3 separate regions of the Homo sapiens genome follow, and regions 1 and 3 are each linked to region 2. Evidence: promoter capture Hi-C in 16 types of primary human blood cells and fetal thymus (Javierre and others, 2016). All regions are on one chromosome and are shown on one strand. Each heading gives the region's core, a stretch centred on a gene start or on the middle of the fragment in contact. The rest is flanking DNA. Distances are from core to core; before and after follow the strand shown.

Region 1 (3,472 bases), core at 726-3,225, 220 kb after region 2:
TTTTTTCTCCCCCTTTCTCAGCAAATCCATTCCTTCCGACACATTCCTTGATTGTTGTTTTTTTTTTTTTTTTCCCCCTGCTCCCTGCCTGATTCCCCGCACCCCCCGGGCACCTTTGGTTGGTGTGGCTGGTCAAGAAATGGGGAAGGGTTCCCTTTGTCTAGTTTTGGAGGAGGGGCCTCTAATGTTTTGCTTTAAGTGAGGCCGGAGGGTCTCTCTAGTTGAAGTAAGCTGTTGGGGTGGCCTCTGCAGTCTCTGGTAGCCCAGTGTCTCTGAGGACAGGATTCGTCTCTGGGTTTCAGATGCTAGCAGGATAGTGTCCATAGTAAGTACTCAGTAAACATGTGCTCAGCCACCAAGCAAGCTGCTCTGATGGTGAGGGTTTCTAATGCTCTTGCCACGAGCAAGGCCAGTAATCTCTCTGGGCCTCCCTCCAGGGGACGTAGATTCTAAAATCGTGGGCACTTGGGAGAGTGGCTTCCGCCATACCCAACCAGCACAAGGCTGAGATCTGAGCTGCCAACCTCAAACCAAGCCAGCCTGTGAATCACGGCCAAGTCTGGGTTCCAATCCTGGCTCTGCCACCTCATCACTGCATGCCCCTGGACAGGTAGCTTGCTGTTTCTGAGCCTCAGTTTCCTCACCTGTAAAATGGGCTCACCTGTAAAATGGGCTGCACTTCTGGTTTTTCGGCAAGATTGAGAGGTGTTATACAAAATAATGAAAAGCTTCCAGGGTGGGGTCTGGCCACAGTCGGTACACAACCAGTGACTGTAGAAAGCCCAGCAGGCAGACTTTGGAATCTGGTTTCCCCACCGTTGACGCGGGGTGGCGGGTGGGGAGTGACAGTTCTGACCACCTGAGGGGTTGTGAGAATTAAATGAGATAATGCATGCATTAAATGAGATGATACATGCGTTAAATGAGATAATACATGAAACATGGGCTGAGGGTGCTGCACCTGCAGTAGGCGTGCAGAAAATGAAGTTTATTATCACTAATGCCCTCAGCACAGCGTCTGGCCATAGTAGGCACGCAACACATAGAGACTTACTGATTCATAAGCCTTTAACACACAGACAGTTCCCTTTAATATGCGGGAACTCTCAGTGTTATTCAGCAAAGACCTTAACATACTGCCTGGCACACAGTAGGTGCCCCATTAATACAGCCACTGTTTTAAATCTACATATGGATTGGCACAGTGCTGGGCACCTAGTTGGCACTCAGTAAATGGAAGCTATTAGCAGTTTATAACAAGCTTAGCCTAGTGCCAGGCGCACAGTAGGTACTCAAAACATGGGTGGCAACAATTATTGTTCTGCAAACCTCTTGGCACAATGGCTGACATACAGTAAGTGCTCAATAAGTGGCACTTGCTATAAAGAGGTGGCCTAAGTGTGAGGCACGTAGTAGATGCTCAGATGGGCACCATTATCAGTTTGAAAGGGTGTGGGATAGGGCTGGTTACACAGTTTTTACTGAAAACATTCACTTATTATCTGCAAAGCCCTTGGCACAGTGTGTGCAAATAGTAGGTGCTCAATAAGAACTATTACTATTTTTATATAAGGTATTGAGTGCAATGCCTGGCACACGGTGCCAGGTGCTGTTACAGTTATCCAATAAAGCCCTTAGCACGATGCTTGGCACACAGTAGGTGCTTAAGAAATGAAAACTATTGGCCGGGCGCGGCGGCTCATGCCTGTAATCCCAGCACTTTGGGAGGCCGAGGTGGGCGGATCACGAGGTCAGGAGATCGAGACCATCCTGGCCAACATGGTGAAAATCCGTCTCCCCTAAAAATACAAAAAATTAGCCGAGCGTGGTGGCGGGCGCCTGTAGTCCCAGCTACTCGGGAGGCTGAGACAGGAGAATGGCGTGAACCCGAGCAGCAGAGCTTGCAGTGAGCCGAGATCGCGCCACTGCACTCCAGCCTGGGCGACAGAGCAAGACTGTCTCAAAAAAAAAAAAAAAAAGAAAGAAAGAAATGAAAACTATTAACATTCCGTAAGGCCCTTAGTAGAGTTGCCTGACACATAGTAGGTGCTTCATATGTGGAAACTTACTGTTTTTCAGTAAGCCCCAGCACAGCACCTGGCACACAATAGGTGCTTAATATGTGGTGACTACTATCGTTTTCTGATGAAGCCTTTAACACAGTGCCTGGCACACAGTAGGGGCCTAATACATGGGGACTATTAACTTTTCTGATACAGCCCTTAGCACAGTGCCTGGCACGCAGTAGGGGTTTAATATGCAGGGACTACTACTGTTTTCTGAGAGAGCCTTTGGCACAGTGCCTGGCACATAGTAGGTGCTGCTTAAATGACAACTGCTGTTTTTCTCTTCAGAGACCTGTTACCGTACCCAGTCCATAGTAGATGTTCAATAAATGAGACTTGCTGTTGATAGGTTAGTAGTAGATGTAGTGTGGTGCCAGGTGCATAGTTGGGACTGAACACAGAAGTGCTGTGATCTTTAAAGATTTTGGCACACAGTAGGTGCTCAATATGAGCTATGAAGTCCTGAGCCTGGTACCTGACACCAGTAGGTGTCCAATAAACAGGCACTTTTATTATTACTTGATAAAGCCCTTGACATTCTATCTGGCACACAGTAGGTGCTCAAGACATGGGCATTATTTTCAAGTGAGGCCAATTGGATGGTCCTAGTTGAAGTAAGCTTTTGGGATGGGCTTTGGGTCCCTGGTAGCACAAGTGTTCAGTAAATAAATGCTTTTACTACAAGAAAAATTTTACCATATTTTCCGTAAATTATTATGAAGCCCTTGGCACCATGCCTGACCTACAGTAGGTGGCCAGTAAATAAGTGCATTTGCTGTTATTGTATGAAGCCCTTGGCATGACACCTGGCACATGGTAGGTAGCTAATAATTGGGGCTTCTATTGCTGTTGCCTGGCACATAGTGTGTGACATATAGATTTTTTTTTTTTTTTTTTTTTTTTTTTTTTTGGAGATGGAGTCTTGCCCTGTTGCCCAGGCTGGAGTACAGTGGCACGATCTTGGCTCACTGCAACTTCCGCCTCCCAGGTTCAAGTGATTCTCCTGCCTCAGCCTCCCGAGTAGCTGGGATTACAGGCTCCCGCCACCATGCCCGGCTAGTTTTTTGTATCTTGTAGTAGAGACGGAGTTTCACCATGTTGGCTAGGCTGGTCTCTCTAACTCCTGACCTCGTGATCCACCCACCTCGGCCTCCCAAAGTGCTGGGATTACAGGAGTGAGCCACTGCGCCCGGCCGAGATTCTTATGCTATTATTCTATGAAGCCCTTGGCACAATGCTTGACACACAGTAGGTACCTGATAAGTGGAGCTTCTATTGCTGTTCCCCTTAGCATGATGCGTGGCACATACTAGATATTCAGTAAATAGATGCTCTATTATTTTGTGAAGCCCTTGGTGCTGGCACATAGTAGGTGCCTAATGGAGCTTCTGTTGCCATTCCCCTTG
Region 2 (3,449 bases), core at 801-3,300:
TTTTTGTAGTTTTTAGTAGAGACAGGGTTTCACCATGTTGGCCAGGATGGTCTTGATCTCCTGACCTCATGATCCGCCCGCCTTGGCTTCTTAAAGTGCTGGGATTACAGGCGTAAGCCACTACGCCCGGCCTAAGAAAATTTTTTTGTAGAGGTGGGGTCTTGTTATGTTGCCCAGGCTGGTCTCAAACCTCTAACCTTGAGCGAACCTCCCACCTCGGCCTCCCATCCCATCACACCTGGGATCCCATGAGACATAAGAGGAAACGGAGTAAAAGGGGTTGGAGAACTCTATGGCACCTTTGCAACTTTTCTGGAAATCTAAACCAGTTCCAAAATAAAACGTTTATTTTAAAAGAAAAAATGTGAATGAAGAATAAGGCCATCCAGGATGAGTGACCCGTGTGCCCGGGACTGGAACCAAAGCACAGACGACCCGTCTCAAAGCCACTCCGGCACCACGGTCACAGCCGCCCCAAAAAGGCCCCCCAGCCCTCACCACCCCTCGCTCTCCCGCCCGCAGAAACGGGGATTGGCCTTAGGCTTGATGGGGATGGGTGTCCCCCAACCCCAGTCAGAGGCGGGTGGCCCAACAGCAGCGAGGCTGAGAATCCGCTTTCAAACCCACTTTATTCTTTTCAGACCAGAAACATTCCTCATTGCACCCCCCTCCCTGCCCTAGATCTTTACTGACCAGGGGCCTCAGGAGGGGCTGAGGAGACAGTGGTATACTCTGCCTCCAGGGACGTGGTGCTGCAGTGGCAGTGGGGACTGGCGCGGCCCAGCAGCTCCAGCCTCCGGGAGCGTAGCTGGACTTGAATGGCCCAGATGGGGGGCCGGTGGCCCGGTAGGGAGGGGTCCTCGTCCCTGAAGCTGTAGGTGGTGGAGTCAAAGCTGTCTTCTGTGGCGGCCACCGACTGTTTGCACACGGGGCAGGAGCGCCGGGGGGCTTGGGAGAACCAGGGGTCAATGCATTTGCAGTGGTAGGTGTGGGAGCAGGGCAGGATCTTGAGTTGGTCGCCCTCCTCATACTCATCCAGGCAGATGGCACACAGGTCGTTGTGCCACGTGAAGGTGCGGACCTGGGCCTTCTGGCAGGTAGACGTCTTCACCGGCCGTCTGTGGCTGCAGCAGGCCTGGGCCCAGAGCCACAGGTGGTTCAGGACAAAGAAGGCTGATACGACCAGGGCCAGGGTACAGCCCAGCACCCAGGACACGGTCAGCACGGGGTGACAGCCCAGGTCGTGGCACGGTGGGTCGTCGGGCAGGAGCAGCGCGTGGGCCGACTTGTTGCAGCCCAGGATGACCCGCAGGTCCTGCGAGGCGGCCTCGCTCACGAACACTGAGGGGATGGCGATCTGGCCCCTCAAGTCCTCGTAGACGTGGGTCATGCTCACGAGGTCGTCGGAGTGGACGTTGTGCACGATGGCCGCCTCGAAGCCGGCGCGCTGGGCGTTCAGCACCTTGAGGTCGAAGGTGCAGTCGTAGCGGCGGATCAGCACGATGGCGCCCAGAGAGCGGTTGCCCAGTCGCGGGGCCTCGATGGGATGGCACGCGTTGGCTGGCTTGACCTCCATCAGGTAGCCCCGTATGCCCTCGGGGGCCAGGGGGACGCCGAACAGCGCCGGCAGATCCGCAAAGTCCACCGAGCTCGAGTTGTCTTCCAGCACGGCCCGTACCACTGCCTGCGCGGGCACCTGGAGCAGCGACAAGACCAGCAAGGCTTTGACTGCCACGAGGGCTCGGCCCGGCCGTGGCCACCCCATGGTCACCCGCTTCGCTGTCTGTGTGCTGCTAGGTCCCACTGGAGGCGGCAGGCATGAGGCCTTTGGGCATCTCCGGGGTCTCCCAGGGGGCCTGTGGCCAGGACGCGAGGGCAGTTGAGTTGGAATGACCGCGTGGCTCAGAGGCAGTGACGCGGCCACTGGGACCCTGCTGGCTCTAGGCATTAAGTGCTCCGGACGGCAGAGCGGCATGCGTCGTGTCTTTGAAGGCCGGTCTCAGGAGGTGCTGGCGCAGGTGGCCTTTCTGGCAGATGACATGGAGACCAGGAGTCACCAGGGTTCTAGATGCCCCCAGCTTCTGTGACATCGCCCTGCTACATTCTGTCCCAGGAGCTGCCAGCTGCCTGGGCCTGTGGCCAATGGATCATTCCTAGGTCTGTGATTTGCCGGTACCCGGGCAAGCTTTGAGATAACTTCTTGAAGGCTCAGGGTATCTTTGGACCCAAGGAGGCCCAGGGATGCTTCAAAAGGGCTGCCGGCCCCCAGCAGTGCAGATTCAGCCCTCACTGTGCGAAGACGCTACCAGCATCAGCTTCTGGAGGTTCCTAGCAACACACTGTAGAAGGTTCAATGTTACCCTTGTCTGAGACTCCAAGAGTGACCCAGACTTGTTCAAGCCACGCCCCCCTACAATGAGATCAGTGCTTAAAACCCAAATTCCTGACCCCCTGTCACCATCCCTCACTCTGCTCCAGCCACACAGATCTCCTTGCTGTTCCTCCAACACACCAGGCAGGATCCTGCCCCAGGGCCTTTGCATGGGCTGGGCCTCCTGCCTGGAAAGCCCTTTCTCTCCGTAGCTGGCTCTTTTATCCGGACTCAGGTCTGAGTCCATATATCCTCAGAGCCCTCCTGGACTTGATTTGGAGGGAGAGTCAAGTGCCAGGGTCAGGGTGGGGCTGGTGGGGGTCAGTGGTCCCAAGTCCGCACCGCCAGGTTGGCCTCCAGGCTTGCACCAGCTTCATTCTCTCTCCCTATAGCATTGCCTCTCCAGCTGGGTCTCCAACTGTGCCCCCTGCCTGAGCTTCAGCCCTGGGCATCAGCCTCACCTCCTCCCCAGTCCCCATCCCCCAAATTTCACACCCTCAATCTGTCTGCAGCCCACTCAAGTCGGATTTCTGTCTCTGCCATTCATAAGCTGTATGACATCAGCTAAATTCCTTAGCCTCTCTGGGCCTCAGCTTCCAGACCTGTAACATAGTCTTTCCCATGCTCTAAACTCTCCCATGGCTCCCCATTGCCCTCCAGATAAAGCCCACACTCTTCTCTGTGGCCTACATGCACCCCTGTGGTTGGGCGCCTGCCAATCTCTGAAGCCTGGATGATTTGCAATGTCCCAGAGGCATCTTGCTTTGTTCACCTCTAGAATTTTGCAAATGCTGTTCCCTCTGCCTGGAACAGAATTCTTGCTCCTCAACTTCACTTTGCCAGGCTGACTACTTAGTCTTTAGATTTTCTGTGTTGGCCTAATACCTCTCAGAGCAGCCCTCAGCCAGTGACAGATGGGAGGTGGTAGATAAATGCCCCCACTCCCTCGTCCCTCTTATGGGACAAATCGAAGTATGTTCTACCATATCTCCTAGAGGTCCCCAGTCGAATGAGCTCCATAAGTCAACGAACCCAGTACTGTCTTGTCAATGAGCCCGCTACTGTCTCCTTCCCTTCC
Region 3 (3,559 bases), core at 1,014-3,513, 240 kb after region 2:
GGGTGAGGTGTTGGATGTGAGAGGGGAAGAGTTAAGGGTGACTCCCAAGCTGTGGCCAGAGTGCCCAGAAGGTTGGAGCCACCTTCAGCTAAGACGGGGGAGCAGGTTTGGGGAGAAGGCCAGATACAGTTGGCCACGTTGTGTGTGAGGCGTCCGCAAGACTCTACTTGGAAACCGTCCAGGGCCAGCTAGAGCCCAAGTCAGGCACTTGGGGACATGGTGACTGGGAGGCGCAGACATGGGTGTTTTTTTTTTTGAGATGGAGTTTCACTCTGTCACCCAGGCTGGAGTACAGTGGCGCCATCTCAGCTCACTGCAATCTCCACCTCCCAGGTTCAAGCAATTCTCCTGCCTCAGCCTCCCAAGTAGCTGAGATTACAGGCATGCACCACCATGCCTAGCTAATTTTGTATTTTTAGTTGAGACGAGGTTTCTCCATGTTGGTCAGGCTGGTCTCGAACTCCTGACCTCAGGTGATCCGCCCACCTCGGCCTCCCAAAGTGCTGGGATAACAGGCATGAGCCACCACACCCGGCCACTTGGGCATCTTCAGCACATGGGTGGCAGGTTGAGCCGGAGTGACAGGTGACATCCTTGTGGTCCCCAGAATGGCTCCAGTGAGAAACGCGAGGTCCGCCAGTTCCAGTTTACGGCGTGGCCGGACCATGGCGTGCCCGAATACCCAACGCCCTTCCTGGCTTTCCTGCGGAGAGTCAAGACCTGCAACCCGCCAGATGCCGGCCCCATCGTGGTTCACTGCAGGTACGTCCACCCCACTCTGCCCCATCCGCTTCCCCCCGGTCCCCGCAGCCCAGCAGCCCCTGAACGCCACGTGGCTGTCCCTGCAGTGCCGGTGTGGGCCGCACAGGCTGCTTTATCGTCATCGACGCCATGCTTGAGCGGATCAAGCCAGAGAAGACAGTCGATGTCTATGGCCACGTGACGCTCATGAGGTCCCAGCGCAACTACATGGTGCAGACGGAGGACCAGTACAGCTTCATCCACGAGGCCCTGCTGGAGGCCGTGGGCTGTGGCAACACAGAAGTGCCCGCACGCAGCCTCTATGCCTACATCCAGAAGCTGGCCCAGGTGGAGCCTGGCGAACACGTCACTGGCATGGAACTCGAGTTCAAGGTGCCAGCGGGGTGGAGGCTGCTGTGGGCGGGGTGGGGAGGAGGCCCAAAGAGCCGAAAATCAGGCCCGCCTCGAGCAATGGGGACTAGAAGGTGGTGGCAGGGTGCCCCTACCTACCTATCCACCATTGGTGCTCCAGCTGAAAGCATAGCCTTCCTCATCCTGATGGTGGCCTCTGGCTTCCTCCTCCCCACAGCGGCTGGCTAACTCCAAGGCCCACACGTCACGCTTCATCAGTGCCAATCTGCCTTGTAACAAGTTCAAGAACCGCCTGGTGAACATCATGCCCTATGAGAGCACACGGGTCTGTCTGCAACCCATCCGGGGTGTGGAGGGCTCTGACTACATCAACGCCAGCTTCATTGATGGCTACAGGTAGGTGCCATGCCTTTCCCACCTCAGGGCCCCAGAAGGAGCCCATCTCTACTCTCAAGAGGCCTCCAGTCTTGTGGGAGACAGAGCTGGGGAGATACTGGTAGCCCTGAGCTGTTTAAATACACATCTTTAGATGTATATTTAACTGATGGCTGCTGTCCGTGAATCTTTGGGTGTGTGTTTAACTGATGGCTGCTGTCCATAATGTGATTCCATCTGTTCTATCAGTGGTTCTCAATTGGGGTAATTCTGACACCCTGAGGATATTTCTTATTTTCATGAGTACTACTGGTACTGCCTGGGTGGGGACCAGGCATGCTGCTCAGCATCCTACAGTACACAGAACAGCTTGTCTCAGAGAACAATCCAGCGCCAAATGTCAATAGCACTGAGATTGAGAAATCCTGGCAAAGGAGGGGAGGGTGTTCCTGGCAGAGGGTGCCACATGTGCAAAGGCCCGGGGCTGAGAGCTTGGCCCACGCAAGCAACTGAAAGTAGGGCAGTGGCCCTTGAAGGAGATGGAGGGAAGAAATCAGGAGAGGTTAGTGGATAGTCCCGCAGCTTTGTCAAGGGATTTGAATTTGTCATGAGACTGGTGGTTTCCCCACATGCAAAATGGGATCACCAGGAGGGGAAGTGGTGCACCCAGCAGCCATTCCTGGCAGGCAGTGGGGTGGTAGGTGTAGCTGTCACTGGCTTGGTCCTGACCCTCCCGGGCAGCATCAGGTGAGTACCACGCCGGGTCTCCCTGCCGGCCCTGGGCTCATACCCCCAACGCCTGCAGGCAGCAGAAGGCCTACATCGCGACACAGGGGCCGCTGGCGGAGACCACGGAAGACTTCTGGCGCATGCTGTGGGAGAACAATTCGACGATCGTGGTGATGCTGACCAAGCTGCGGGAGATGGGCCGGGTGAGCTAGGGGCCACAGCAGGGAAGGGCGAGGGCCAGACTGTGGCTCAGACAGCGCTGACCACGGCCGCCATCTCCTCCACAGGAGAAGTGTCACCAGTACTGGCCGGCCGAGCGCTCTGCCCGCTACCAGTACTTTGTGGTAGATCCGATGGCAGAATACAACATGCCTCAGTATATCCTGCGAGAGTTCAAGGTCACAGATGCCCGGGTGAGTGAAGAGACAGACTGGCGGGAGGGGCTGGAGCCTTAGTGATCTGGAAAGGGCTGCCCTGGTTGGTGATGGATACAAAGGCCAAGGGTTAGGCATAAGCATTGGGAATCAGGAGAAGTGTCAGCTGACCAGTTGGCCACTTGCTTCTACTGCCACATAGGTGGAAGAGAGGGTCTTATCTCTGTGCTGACCCTGCAGTGTCTCCACTCACTAGGGAACATGGCCCCAGGGGATGATATTCAAGGAAGTGAATGGGGCTTTCCTCTGGAAGCAGCCACCTGTGGAGGATGATGTTAAAGGGCTGAAAGGGACTTGAGGGATTGAGGGTGAGGGGTGGTAGACGGTGGACAAGGAGAGTCAGATGGTGGGGACTGGCACCGTTGGGTGAGGAGAGATGAGTATGGATGGTGTTGGCTCAATGAAGGACTGCAGTGTCAGGTGGAGGGAGAAAGGCCAGGTATTAGGTGGCAACAGATGAAGACTCATAGTGGAAGGTGGCCCTGTTGGGTGACAAAGGATCAAAGTTAGTGGTGGAAGATCGACGATGGTAGAGAACGCAGTGAGGGGATGATAGAGGATGGGGAATGTTGGCCAAGATGATGCCAAAGGATGGTGAAGGCTGCTGAATGAACAGCAATCACCGGGCATTGTGCTGTGAGCAGTGCAAGATGGTGCCCTTGGAGGGGTGGAATCTGGAATTGGAGAGAAGAACATTCGCATAACAGGATGGAGAATGTCAGTGGAATGTGGTAGTTTGGGTCAGTGAAGGGTGATGCTTTATCAGTGATGGATGGAGGAAGACAGAATTGGAGAAGGGCAAATGTTTGGCCAGCAGGGGGTGGAGAAAATCAATGGGAAATACTAGGACTAAGAAAGGACAGTAAACAATAGTCAATGGTATAAACCAATGGGTGGTACAAGATTGA

The links. The method cuts DNA at HindIII sites, captures the fragments that hold promoters and counts their contacts. A CHiCAGO score of 5 or more calls a contact.
Region 1: a fragment that was not itself captured here is called in contact with the fragment with the promoter of ZNRF4 in region 2 in 5 of 17 cell types (M1 macrophages, activated CD4 T cells, total CD8 T cells and 2 more); the score reaches 5.3 in M1 macrophages.
Region 3: a fragment that was not itself captured here is called in contact with the fragment with the promoter of ZNRF4 in region 2 in 1 of 17 cell types (M1 macrophages); the score reaches 5.4 in M1 macrophages.

The regions. Positions count from the first base shown.
Region 1 is chr19:5,233,451-5,236,922 of GRCh38, reverse strand. All of the region lies in intron 13 of PTPRS (protein tyrosine phosphatase receptor type S), which reads left to right. Among named protein-coding and RNA genes, the nearest start is that of PTPRS-AS1, 57 kb to the right of the region's middle. The HindIII fragment of the contact is 1,424 bases long and covers 1,264-2,687 here.
Region 2 is chr19:5,454,018-5,457,466 of GRCh38, reverse strand. It overlaps ZNRF4 (zinc and ring finger 4), which reads right to left and starts at 2,050. Exons shown (of 1, transcript NM_181710.4): 1 at 611-2,050. The coding sequence starts at 1,975. The coding sequence ends at 686. The HindIII fragment of the contact is 7,810 bases long and covers 1-2,187 here.
Region 3 is chr19:5,209,540-5,213,098 of GRCh38, reverse strand. It overlaps PTPRS (protein tyrosine phosphatase receptor type S), which reads left to right. Exons shown (of 38, transcript NM_002850.4): 31 at 608-762; 32 at 849-1,134; 33 at 1,331-1,509; 34 at 2,294-2,420; 35 at 2,505-2,630. Among named protein-coding and RNA genes, the nearest start is that of PTPRS-AS1, 34 kb to the right of the region's middle. The HindIII fragment of the contact is 5,344 bases long and covers 1-3,559 here.